Linked DNA regions of Homo sapiens: regions 2 and 3 are each linked to region 1. Evidence: promoter capture Hi-C in human tissues and cell types (Jung and others, 2019). All regions are on one chromosome and are shown on one strand. The core of a region is centred on a gene start or on the middle of the fragment in contact, and the rest is flanking DNA. Distances in the headings are between cores, read along the strand shown.

What was found. The method cuts DNA at HindIII sites, captures the fragments that hold promoters and counts their contacts. A contact is called where the count stands out against the background at its distance.
Region 2: a fragment that was not itself captured here is called in contact with the fragment with the promoter of SLC29A2 in region 1 in 1 of the 25 tissues and cell types used here (mesenchymal stem cells).
Region 3: a fragment that was not itself captured here is called in contact with the fragment with the promoter of SLC29A2 in region 1 in 3 of the 25 tissues and cell types used here (lymphoblastoid cells, mesendoderm cells and thymus).

Annotation. Positions count from the first base shown.
Region 1 is chr11:66,370,100-66,374,146 of GRCh38, forward strand. SLC29A2 (solute carrier family 29 member 2) reads right to left here and starts at 1,661. Exons shown (of 12, transcript NM_001532.3): 1 at 1,464-1,661; 2 at 1,145-1,226. The coding sequence starts at 1,492. RefSeq lists a silencer at 1,357-2,116. The HindIII fragment of the contact is 13,916 bases long and covers 1-4,047 here.
Region 2 is chr11:66,777,611-66,781,657 of GRCh38, forward strand. The region is part of intron 2 of TOP6BL (TOP6B like initiator of meiotic double strand breaks); the gene reads left to right. Among named protein-coding and RNA genes, the nearest start is that of TOP6BL, 35 kb to the left of the region's middle. The HindIII fragment of the contact is 9,245 bases long and covers 1-4,047 here.
Region 3 is chr11:66,637,370-66,641,416 of GRCh38, forward strand. The region is part of intron 1 of RBM14-RBM4 (RBM14-RBM4 readthrough); the gene reads left to right. It overlaps RBM4 (RNA binding motif protein 4), which reads left to right and starts at 1,334. Exons shown (of 4, transcript NM_002896.4): 1 at 1,334-1,383; 2 at 2,331-2,754. The coding sequence starts at 2,343. RefSeq lists enhancers at 785-1,498, 1,263-1,632, 1,499-2,210. The HindIII fragment of the contact is 5,623 bases long and covers 1-4,047 here.

The DNA.
Region 1 (4,047 bases), core at 411-2,910:
CTCCCTCTAAACAGGCTGATCGTCTCTTGCCTGCCTGCCTTTGGCATGGCTGTCGCCTCGGCCTGGAATGCCCTACTGACCACACCCCTCCACATGCACTTTGCCTACCCTACTCCCAATTTACAAATCTCCTCTTCCATGAAGCAGAAGGAACTTTCTCCCTCCCCTGGGGACCCACTGCACTCTGCTGCAAGCCTGGAATGTCACGCATCATGTTACATTATTAATAGCTCTTTGGCCCCCTCTTGCTCTCAAGCCCAGGGGCTGATTCATCTCTGGGTTTCCAGGGCCCAGCACAGAGCCAGTACCCAAGAAGCATTTGCAAAGTTGTTGCAGTGAATACAGATGAATAACCCGGTCCCAAAGACAATGCAAACCCCACATTTCTGCCTTCCCTGAAGAGCCTCCCTGCTGTTTCCTCCTGTGTCCCCAGTGCCTGCTCCACAGTAGATGCACATTAAAAGTTTGTTGAATGAGGCTGGGCACGGTGGCTCACGCCTGTAATCCCAGCACTTTGGGAGGCCGAGGCGGGAGGATCACGAGGTCAGGAGATCGAGACCATCCTGGCTAACACGGTGAAACCCCGTCTCTACTAAAAATACAAAAAAAAATAGCCGCGCGTGGCGGCGGGCGCCTGTAGTCCCAGCTACTCGGGAGGGTGAGGCAGGAGAATGGCGTGAACCCGGGAGGCGGAGCTTGCAGTGAGCCGAGATGGCGCCACTGCACTCCAGCCTGGGCGAAAGAGCCAGACTCTGTCTCAAAAAAAAAAAAAAAAAAAAAGTTTGTTGAATGAATGAGTGAATGAATGAAATTCATGGTATTTCAAAGAAAATCAAACGTTCGATAACCGACTTTTGGGGTGACTGACTCAGGAATAACGACACACAGAGAGGGGTGGCAGCGCCTTTGCTCATTCCAGACCCTGTGGGCTGGTGGCCTTGCCCCTCTGAGATGTGGGCATTGCTGAAGTTCTACTTTCCTAGCCACGGGGGAAGCATTCCCCTCTCCGAGCTTCAGCCCATAATGAGCTCAACGAGGGGTCACAGGTGCGCGGTGAGGAAGCGCCCGCTAAGCTTCATCCAAAGGGCTGGAGGGAGGGGTGCTGGCTGTGGCCACGAGGCTGCCACGCCGCCAGGAGTCTCACCGGGATGGCGGTGATGAAGAAGTTCCAGGGAAGGAGGGTGCCCAGCCCCAGGATGAAGAAGCTGATCCCGACCAGGTGGTAGCTGTGGGGATCGGTGGGAAGGTCACCCCGAGGACGCACCCGCCTCCGCAGGCCCTCCCGCCTCCCAGGCCACCCCCTCCGGAGCGGACTACAACCCCGATCACCCCGGTTCCGGCGGCCGAGGGAGTCGGCTGATGGGAATTGTAGTTCGATCCGGTCTTCTCTGAGCCTCGGAGCGCCTTCAGGGAGCGGGTCTGCAACGCCCCCGGCCACTTGCAACGCACCCGGGCCCACTCACCTGTCCCGCGGGGCGTCTCCTCGCGCCATGGCCGCCGCGGCGGATGCGCCTGGGGTGAAAGGGGCAGAGAAGCCGCACCTGCACCTGCGCTGGGGCGGAGGGCCGCAGACCGGTGGGGCGGGGGGCGGGTCTCCCCAGATTCCGGTGCAGGGCGGCTGGAGTCGCACAGGTAGCCTCGGGCGGATTTCGGCGTGTCTCGCGCTCCGCAGGCTGGGACCTGGGCTCCGCCCCGAGGCGGGGACAGAGGGTCGCGCCACCCGTCTCTCCTTCCCCCACCCGCCTCAGGGACTCGACTCTGGCTCGGGCCCCGCCCCACCTAGGGGCCTGCGGAACCCGCCCGCTCCCCGCACAGCCCCTCCCCGCAGCCCCCCGTCCTCTCCGCGGGGGCGGGTCCCGGATCCCTGCGGCGGAGGGGAAGGCGGGGGTAGGGACGAGGTGTAACCTCACCTCCACCCCCCGCCGAGAGCTCTGTAGGGGCAGCACTGGTGCGGGGCTCTTCCCGCTTCGTCAGCTCCGAGGTGATGCCAGAGCCGCTCCTGCGACCCCTAAAGCTGGAACCCACCGGGGCGCCCCCTAACTAGGGAGCCGCTGCGGAGTCCCCGCCCAGAGCGTAACCCGAGCCGGGCCCGGGCGGGGGAACCAGAGCTGCCACAGGTCGCCCGCGATCCTGGCGGGCTTCGCCGCGCTGGGTCCCCGGGAGTGCCTGGAAAAAAACAGCATTACTTTCAACTCCCTACTCTTTTTCTGTTAAAAAAAAAAATTTGAAAAGACTATAAATCATTAATTTGCTCCTACTCTCATAATCTACGAATAGGTGTGGGTTCTCTGCAATCCCCGGGCGTATCGGGGACGCTGGAGAAGTGAGAGGCTCCAAAACACAAACTAGTTTTTTTGAGACTGAGTGTCGCTCTGTCGCCCAGGCGGAAGTGCAGTGGCGTGATCTTGGCTCACTGCAACCTCCCCCTCCCAGGCAGGTTCAAGCGATTCTGGTGCCTCAGCCTCAGGAGTAGCTGGGACTACAGGCGCATGCCACCACGTCCGGTTAATTTTTGTATTTTTAGTAGAAACGGGGCTTCACCAGCTCTACTGAAGAGGTGGCCAGTCTAGTCTCGAACTCATCTTTTGACCAGGCTGGTCTCGAACTCTTGACCTCAGGTGATCCGCCCGCATCGGCCTCCCAAAATGTTGCTATTACAGGCGTGAGCCACCACGCCCGGCCACAAACTATTTTCTTAAGCAATGACATTTTATAGCCATTCCCAGGTTGCTTATGTTTTTCCTCCAGCCGACTGAGAGTCTGTAGGGGCAGAGGCTGTGCTTATCTGGTCCATTGGTTTACTGGCAGCATCTAGCGCCGTTGAGTGATAAATGGGTGGTTGCAGTAAAATGCAGGTGATTTTAGGGAGAACAGAGACAGCATTAAATTACACCGAAAGAGAAAGTTATTCTTCCCATTTTCTTTCAAGCCTCTGAATATGTCAAGGGTGTTAACAGGTTGCTAACACTTCTTAATCTGCCTTCCCATCCCTTCCCCTCAGTTAGCCTCAGAGGGTCTGCTGACAATTTTATCAAAAGTTATTAACTTGTATTTTTCTTATATTTATTTTTATAGCAACTTTATTTTCAGGGCTACTCATACTGGTTTCCTATTTATGATTATGATATCAACTTTTCTTTGAAAAATCAATTTATTTATGGAAAATGAGTTATTTAAAGAAAAGCGAGGCCGCTGGTGCAGCACAGCTATGGCACAGGTTGTGAAGGAAGGACTTGAGAATGGAGGCTAGGGAGCACTGAATTTGTTGAGACAGTGAAGGGAGAGGATGAGGGCATTTCAGGGAGAGAACAGCCTGTCCCAAGACAAGGGACAAGAGAGTGCTGACACATTCTGGGACATACAAATAGATCCCTTTGGCTGGCATTGGTGGGAGGAGGGGACAGAGCCTCTACAACAGCCAGGCTGGTTATGGCAAGTCTGAGGGCTGATTAAGGAGTTCAGATTTCATTTCAAAGCACAGACGGTCAGCTGGAGCCGATTCCATCGTCCTTGTAATAAATATTTTGTTACTATCCTGCAATGAAACTCATATAAAACAAAACCTACCTATACACAATAACATTTGATGTCGAGATAATATCCTGATTTTACTGCAGATGAATCATAAGGGAAATTATTTAGTAATAACATGGTGTGTGTGAATGTGTTAATATTCATGGTACATGAAGCTGTCAAATGCTTGCCCTTCTTTCTAAAACTGCAGTGAATCCACGGCTACAAACTCACATGCGATACAGGCATGCAGTGAAACTGGCCACTCAGAGACCCACTAGTTTGCCAGGATTTTCTTTTCTTTTCTTACCTTTTTTTTTCTTTTCTTTTTCTCTTTTTTTTTCTTTTTTTTTTTTTTTTCAGACGGAGTCTCTCTCTGTTGCCCAGGCCAGAGTGCAGTGGCAGGATCTTGGCTCACTACAACCTCTGCCTCCTGGGCTCACACGATTCTCCTGCCTCAGCCTCCTGAGTAGCTGGGATTACAGGCGTGTGCCATGATGCCTGGCTAATTTTTGTATTTTTAGTAGAGACAGG
Region 2 (4,047 bases), core at 717-3,216, 410 kb after region 1:
CCAGGCGTGGTGGCTCATACCTGTGATCCCAGCACTTTGGGAGGCTGACATGGGTGGATCACTTGAGGTCAGGAGTTCAAGACCAGCCTGCTAACATGGTGAAACCCCGTCTCTACTAAAAATACAAAAAAATAGCCTGTAGTCCCAGCTACTCGGGAGGCTGAGGCAAGGGAATCACTTGAATCCGGGAGGTGGAGGTTGCAGTGAGCCAAGATCACACCACTGCACTCCAACCTGGGCATCAAAGCAAGACTCCATCCCCCCAAAAAAAGTTGTGTCTTGTAATGCTAACATTTGTAGCAAAGTTACCAACTTCACCGTACTTTGCCAGCATTGGGAATTTCAATTACTTAAAATATTTAAGCTAATTTACAAGTTAATGAGATGGTTAAAAGTTTTAATTATATTTCTCTGAACCTTTTAATAAGTGTTTACCACCTCTATTTTCTGTTTTCTGAACTTTGTGTCTTTTTCTTTTCTTTCTTTTTTTTTTTTTTTAAGAGACAGTCTCAAACTCCTGGGCTCAAGTGATTCTCCTGCCTCAGCCTCCCAAATTGCTGGGATTACAGACTTGAGCCACTGCACCCAGCCTTCTCCATGTCTTTAGGGACAAACTTCTAGGATGAAATTTAGGATGAATTAAGTCATTAGCTTGACACCATGATGTACAAATCCCTGAATTTCAGTTTCATTGTTAAAATGCCATTGTTTCAAGATGCTCAGTTGGCTATGGAAAGATAGGTCATCTATCCCAGCTACTCAGGGGGATCTTTTGAGCCCAAGAGGTCAAGGCTACAGTGAGCTGCGATCACAGCACTGCACTCTAGCCCGGGCAACAAAGTGAGACTGTCTCCAAAAATAAAATATAAAATTTATATGGAAAGAAAAACCCAGAATAGCCAACGCCATATTGAAGAGTAAAGTCAGGGGACTGGCACTACCTGACTTCAAGACTTATAAAGCTACAGTAGTTAGCCCAAGGTAATTAATAGATTCAATGCCATCCCCATCAAGCTACCAATGACTTTCTTCACAGAATTGGAAAAAACTACTTTAAAGTTCATATGGAACCAAAAAAGAACCCGCATTGCCAAGTCAATCTTAAGCCAAAAGAACAAAGCTGGAGGCATCACGCTACCTGACTTCAAACTATTCTACAAGGCTACAGTAACCAAAACAGCATGATACTGGTACCAAAACAGAGATATAGACCAATGGAACAGAAAAGAGCCCTTAGAAATAATGACGCATATCTACAACTATCTGATCTTTGACAGACCTGACAAAAACAAGCAATGGGGAAAGGATTCCCTATTTAATAAATGGTGCTGGGAAAACTAGCTAGCCATTTGTAGAAAGCTGAAACTGGATCCCTTCCTTACACCTTATACAAAAATTAATTCAAGATGGATTAAAGATTTACATGTTAGACCTAAAACCATAAAAACTCTAGAAGAAAACCTAGGCAATACCATTCAGGACATAGGCATGGGCAAGGACTTCATGTCTAAAACACCAAAAGCAATGGCGACAAAAGCCAAAATTGACAAATGGGATCTAATTAAACTAAAGAGCTTCTGCACAGCAAAAGAAACAACCATCAGAGTGAACAGGCAACCTACAGAATGGGAGAAAATTTTTGCAACCTACTCATCTGACAAAGGGCTAATACCCAGAATCTACAGTGAACTCCAACAAATTTACAAGAAAAAAACAACCCCATCAAAAAGTGGGTGAAGGATATGAACAGACACTTCTCAAAAGAAGACATTTATGCAGCCAAAAAAAACACGTGAAAAAATGCTCATCATCACTGGCCATCAGAGAAATGCAAATCAAAACCACAATGAGATACCATCTCACACCAGTTAGAATGGCGATCATTAAAAAGTCAAGAAACAACAGGTGCTGGAGAGGATGTGGAGAAATAGGAACACTTTTACACTGTTGGTGGGACTGTAAACTAGTTCAACCATTGTGGAAGTCAGTGTGGTGATTCCTCGGAGATCTAGAACTAGAAATACCATTTGACCCCGCCATCCCATTACTGGGTATATACCCAAAGGATTATAAATCATGCTGCTATAAAGACACACGCACATGTATGTTTACTGCGGCACTATTCACAATAGCAAAGACTTGGAACCAACCCAAATGTCCAACAATGATAGACTGGATTAAGAAAATGTGGCACATATACCATGGAATACTATGCAGCCATAAAAAATGATGAGTTCATGTCGTTTGTAGGGACATGGATGAAGCTGGAAACCATCATTCTCAGCATACTTTTACAAGGACAAAAAACCAAACACCGCATGTTCTCACTCATAGGTGGGAATTGAACAATGAGAACACATGGACACAGGAAGGGGAACATCACACACCAGGGCCTGTTGTGGGGTGGGGGGAGGGGGAGGGATAGCATTAGGAGATATACCTAATGTTAAATGGCGAGTTACTGGGTGCAACACACCAACATGGCACATGTATACATATGTAACAAACCTGCACGTTGTGCACATGTACCCTAAAACTTTCATAAAAAAAAAAGAAACTGTGGTATTGGCAAAAGAATAGGTAAATAGTGTTTTTTTGCTCAATTTTGAGTATTTTTAAATACTCAAATACTTATAATTCCCTGCCTTATGAGATTATTTTTGCTCTGAAAAGCTAGCTGTCAAGAAAAATTCAAGGAAAAAAATAGTCTTTTATATTCACTTATTTATGATTTCTGGTGCTCTTCATTTCTTCCTTTATAGCTGGGTTTCCATCTTCAGCCTGAAGAAAATCCTTTAGCAAATCTTCTAGCAGCAGATTATTTCATCTTCTATCTTAAAATGCCTTTACCTTAACCTCATTTTTAAAGGATATTGCACTGGAATATCTGGCTTGATAGTTTTCTCCTTTTCAACATTTTGAAAGATGTTGTCAATTGTCTTCTGCGCTTTATTGTTTTTATTTATTTATTTTATTTTATTTTTTTGGAGACAGAGTCTCACTCTCTCACCCAGGCCGGAGTGCAGTGGCGTGATCTTGGCTCACTGCAACCTCTGCCTCCTGGGTTCAAGTGATTCTTGTGCTTCAGCCTCCTGAGTAGCACTGGGATTACAGACATGTGCCACCACACCTGGCTAATTTTTTGATTTTTAGTAGAGACAGGGTTTTTCCATGTTGACCAGGCTGGTCATGAACTCCTGGCCTCAAGCGATCCACCTACTTTGGCCTCCCAAAGTGCTGGGATTATAGGCATGAGCCACCGCGCGTGGACCTGGCCTTTATTGTTTATGGTAAGAAGTCAGCTGTGATTCATTTTATACCTCCTGTGTATATGATGTGTGCTTTTCCTCTGGCTTCTTTCAATATTTTATCTTTATCTTTGGTTTTTATCATTTTGACTATTATATACCTAGGTGTGATTTTCTTTGCATTTATCCTCCTTGGGGTTTGCTGAGCTTTTCACACCTTAATATTTTTCATGAAATTTTAGGGAATTTTGTTCATGGTTTTTTGATGTTTTTCTTGTCCTATTCTCATTTTATTCTCCTATCCTCCTTCTGGGACTCCCATTGCACATATTTTAGACTGGTTGATATTTTCCTACAGGTTTCTAAGACTATTCATTTTTCTTCAGTCTTTTTTTTCTTTATTCTCCAGATTGGATAGTTTTTGTTATTTGTCTTCAGTGATTTTACTGACTCTTCTGTCACCTCTAATCTGCTATTAAACCTATCAAGTGAATTCTTCATTTCAATTATTTAACTTTTCAGTTATAGAATTTCTTTTTGGTTCTTTTTGTATAGTGTTATCTGCTGACATTTCCTATCAGTTCACTCATTAAGGCCGCCTTTTAAGCCTTTGAACATATTTATAATAGATTCTTTAAAGTCTTTCCTAAATGTAATATCTGTACCATATCAGGTTCTGTTTCTTTTCTTTTTTCAGAGACAGGGTCTCACTCTGTCACCAGGCTGAAAAGTGCAGTGGCACAGTCATAGCTCCTGCAGCCTCCAACTCCTGGGCTCAAGTGATCCTCCCACCTCAGCC
Region 3 (4,047 bases), core at 535-3,034, 270 kb after region 1:
CGCACCTGGCCCTCGTGTTGGGTTTTAAAACCCACTCTTTTTTTTCCCCCCCAAACTCTGACTTCACCTTTCTCTTTATGAAACCGTTCTCTTTTTGGGGCGGGGGTGGTGGTGAAGAAGCTGCTTTGGATGGTGGTGTGTGGTACTTGTGTCATCTTCACTCCTGATGATCCCTTTCCTCATAAACTCTGCACTGCTTTTAGCCTGTTTTGTTCGTGTTATAAGTTCTTCCATCCAGTCCCTGCACTCCACCTTTTAACCCTTTTCAAAAGCTGCTTCGCAAAGGGTCTTGACTAAAGTTGCTTGCTTAATGAATATGAAGCAGCCTAAGGATGAGAGAAAACGAGGCAGCAGCTGGACCCTCTGGAGAATGTTACTTTGTATTTTGTTTACAGCTGGTTGTGACTAAGCTCTGTCCTCTAAAGTCGGTTCTAGGGGATTAAAACAGCTCTGGCTGATGGCGCCCAATAAAATAAAACAAAAAAACCTTTGCTGCTCCAGTTTTTTCTCAGGGTGGGGTCGGGGTATACTTTAAATCTCCATGGTCTCAGAAAGGTTTCTTCATCGCGGACCCTGGGAGGCTGGTTCCCAGAGGGAACTTGTCCTCAGCGTCTCCTGGACAGTGCAGCCTCCTGCCGGGCCTACTTCTGGAAGGCCATTACAGAGGTCCTTTCACCACCTGTGAGAGGTTTGATTTTGGGGGAGCTCCGGGACTCTCAAGGCTACAGTGTGGACTGCTGGCCCAAGGAGAAGGTTGGTTTCCTGAAGTGGTGGGTGGTGGGTTGGGGGGGGTCTTCGTTGTTTTTCTTCCCTGGCATGTGCCTGCATAAGCTATTTCCACAGCGTCCTGGCCGCGAGGGGGGGTGGTGCTTGGGAGGTTAGAGGGAGACACCTAGAGTGAACGGCAAAATGGAGCGCGGAATACTGTCTGGCTGTGCACGTGGAGGTGGCGAAATGTGGAAGCTTAACGAAGTTGGCGCCATGAAGCTAAAGACTGCTACCCCGGGGCTCTAGCTCGCTCCGCCTAATGGCGGGCCGCACCCCGCCGGCGAAGCCCACGTTTGTAGGTCCGCCCTCACGCTGATCTCTTGCCCAATCAGCGAGTTCGGCTTCGCGAGGTTGGTGCCCATTGGCTTTCGCATAAAAGCTCCGAGGTTACAGACGTTTCCACCTCTTGCCGGCCTCTTAGGTAATTGGCGTCCGTGGTAACCAATCAGGAAGAGGATCTGAGGGAACGCCGGCCTTTTACTTTCTTGAGTGGCCAATCCGGTTGTAGGCTCACCTCCCCCTTCTACTCAGAGCACTGCTGCGGCCGCCGCCATTTTAGCGTTTTGTCAGAAGCGTCCGCGCCGCGAGGAGGAGGCCCTGCTGGTTTCTGTGCGGGTGAGACTCCGAGCCTTTCCACTGCCTTTCTTGTACTGTGTTAAATCTTCTCTCACTCCCTTGGGCTTCGGGGGTGTCCTGGTAGGTCCGCAGTCTCCACACCCGTCACTGAGAGCCGACCTCGGTCCTCGGCATTGCGCGGTAAGCCGGGAGCAGCCCTTCCCCCACCGCCCCCTGAGAATACCTTGCTTTTTTTCGCCCACCCTGTCCCGCGCCCGACATGGCTGCTCTTGGAGCCTCGAGATTTCCACTGGGATAACCCCCTTTCCCTTATATCTGACAGTTACATTCTCGTTTCGGGAATTTCTCGGGCCGTGAGACATCGTCTGGTTAATGAATCTGAAGCTCTTTTCCGCGGCCGCGCATTTCAGTGTTCGGCAGGAGCTAGGACGGTGCCCCGAGAGAGGCGTTCACCACTCCAGTATTTCCTTTATCTCCCACTCCTCGCTGTCTGATCCGAGTCGCGCGTTCATTACTTCCAAAGGAAACTCAAATGTAGCTATTACAAGGCCCATTTTCCCGGAAATGATGGCTGCTTTGGTTCCTACGTGAGGAAAAGCCTGTTGATAATTTCAGGCAGGCAGTCAGCAAGCCTAGTAGACTTTTGTTTTCTGTTGTCCTCCTAGTGGATAGAAAAGCCTAGTACCCCCATTTCTTCATATGCTGTCTTTCATGCCCATTTCTGTTGGAAGGTATCGGTTCTTACCAAACCCTTTGTCTACTAAGGACCTCCCTATTGCAGACGTCTTCTTATTCTTACAGGTTCATGGCGGCTACTATAGCAGGCCTTAGTTCACTCCCACTTCCATTTGATTATTGTGTGGAGGTGTGTGTGCAGGCGTGTGAGAGAGAAAACTGGAAATATACATTAGAGTGAAAGTCGTTGTCTTTTGTGAACGGATGTGGGCCTGAGGTCTTTTGTCAGATGTCTTGTTTTTCTCTCCCAGGCTCTTGTCAGGATGGTGAAGCTGTTCATCGGAAACCTGCCCCGGGAGGCTACAGAGCAGGAGATTCGCTCACTCTTCGAGCAGTATGGGAAGGTGCTGGAATGTGACATCATTAAGAATTACGGCTTTGTGCACATAGAAGACAAGACGGCAGCTGAGGATGCCATACGCAACCTGCACCATTACAAGCTTCATGGGGTGAACATCAACGTGGAAGCCAGCAAGAATAAGAGCAAAACCTCAACAAAGTTGCATGTGGGCAACATCAGTCCCACCTGCACCAATAAGGAGCTTCGAGCCAAGTTTGAGGAGTATGGTCCGGTCATCGAATGTGACATCGTGAAAGATTATGCCTTCGTACACATGGAGCGGGCAGAGGATGCAGTGGAGGCCATCAGGGGCCTTGATAACACAGAGTTTCAAGGTGAACCACCCTCTTTGGGTAGAGGGCTGAACACAAGGCTGTGTGCAGAAAATGGTTGGATAAGTAAAAGGAGAGGTTTGGTAAAGATAACAGCTGTTGGCTGGCTGGTGATGAAGAAATAAGTGTGGGTGATGGACTTCTTATGATGTAGAATGCATGGGACTTAGGGGCTTTACCTTAGGCAAATGTCTCCTGGAGAAAAGCCACTCACCTTTTATTTGGAGCCCCTACGGCTTTTGTGCTTATCAGTGCAGAAACCCTTTTCTTTGAAGGCTTTCTGAGTTACTGGGCCTTTTTTATTTTTTATTTTTTTGTAGTAGAGCACAGTTCAGAGTTCCTCACTCTGAATTTATTGCCCTCAGCACAGGATCAGAATTCTGCATTTTACGTGAAGAACCTCTCAAAAACATGTCAAGCGACACTTATAGGACCAGAATCCTTGTTAAGCTGTCCTACCTTACACAAACTCTTTAAAGGGTTACAGCTCTTGTTGCTTTTATATTATACCTGTACCAAGGGATTGTATTTTGAGTTTAAGGCCACTCTAGAATTACAAGGCTGATTTTAGGACTTCCTGGGGAGGAGGCACTGGGGTTTTAGGGGCGGTAATGACTGTCTTTTCATTGGTTTGGGGGGCTGGACTTTATAAGATTTTGGTGAATAGAGCACTTAGATTTGTGTTATCTTGGAGTCTTAACCAAATGAATCTTTTGTGCCTGGAGGGCAGCATGGGTGATATGTGGATTGTCACTTCATTTGGAAGCATCTCAAATCCCCAGCATTTTGAATGCCTACATGTTGCTCAAAGGAAATGCTTGTTAGAGCATTTTGGATTTTGAATTTTCAGATTTGGGATGCTAAAATGGTACGTAGAACGCAAATATTCCAAAATCTGAGGTCTGAAGCAACAGTGGCAGTTCAGGGGTGGTGATCATGGTGAGTTGCTATCTGAACTCTTCTTTCACCTCCTTTGGGTTCCCAGTGTCAAAAAGAGTGGTGTCCTTTTTTAGCTTAATTAAGCAGGACTGAACAAAAATAATAAAAAATAAAAAAAGCCTTATTCAAATTATGGAGTATTTCCGTGACTCCTTGCTATATTTCAAACCTGTGTTCTGACAGTGTAGTTTGCCGATTCTTTTTCTGGGTACTACCTTTGTTAAGAGTCATTGCTGCCTTTGGCGTCCATTTCCCTTAAATTGGGCTTTTTTAGAGCTGAGAGTCTGATCATTATTTCCCCTAGTAATGGGTGCCCTGTGTCATGGGCATTGCTGTGCGTTAGTAAAGAAAAGTGAC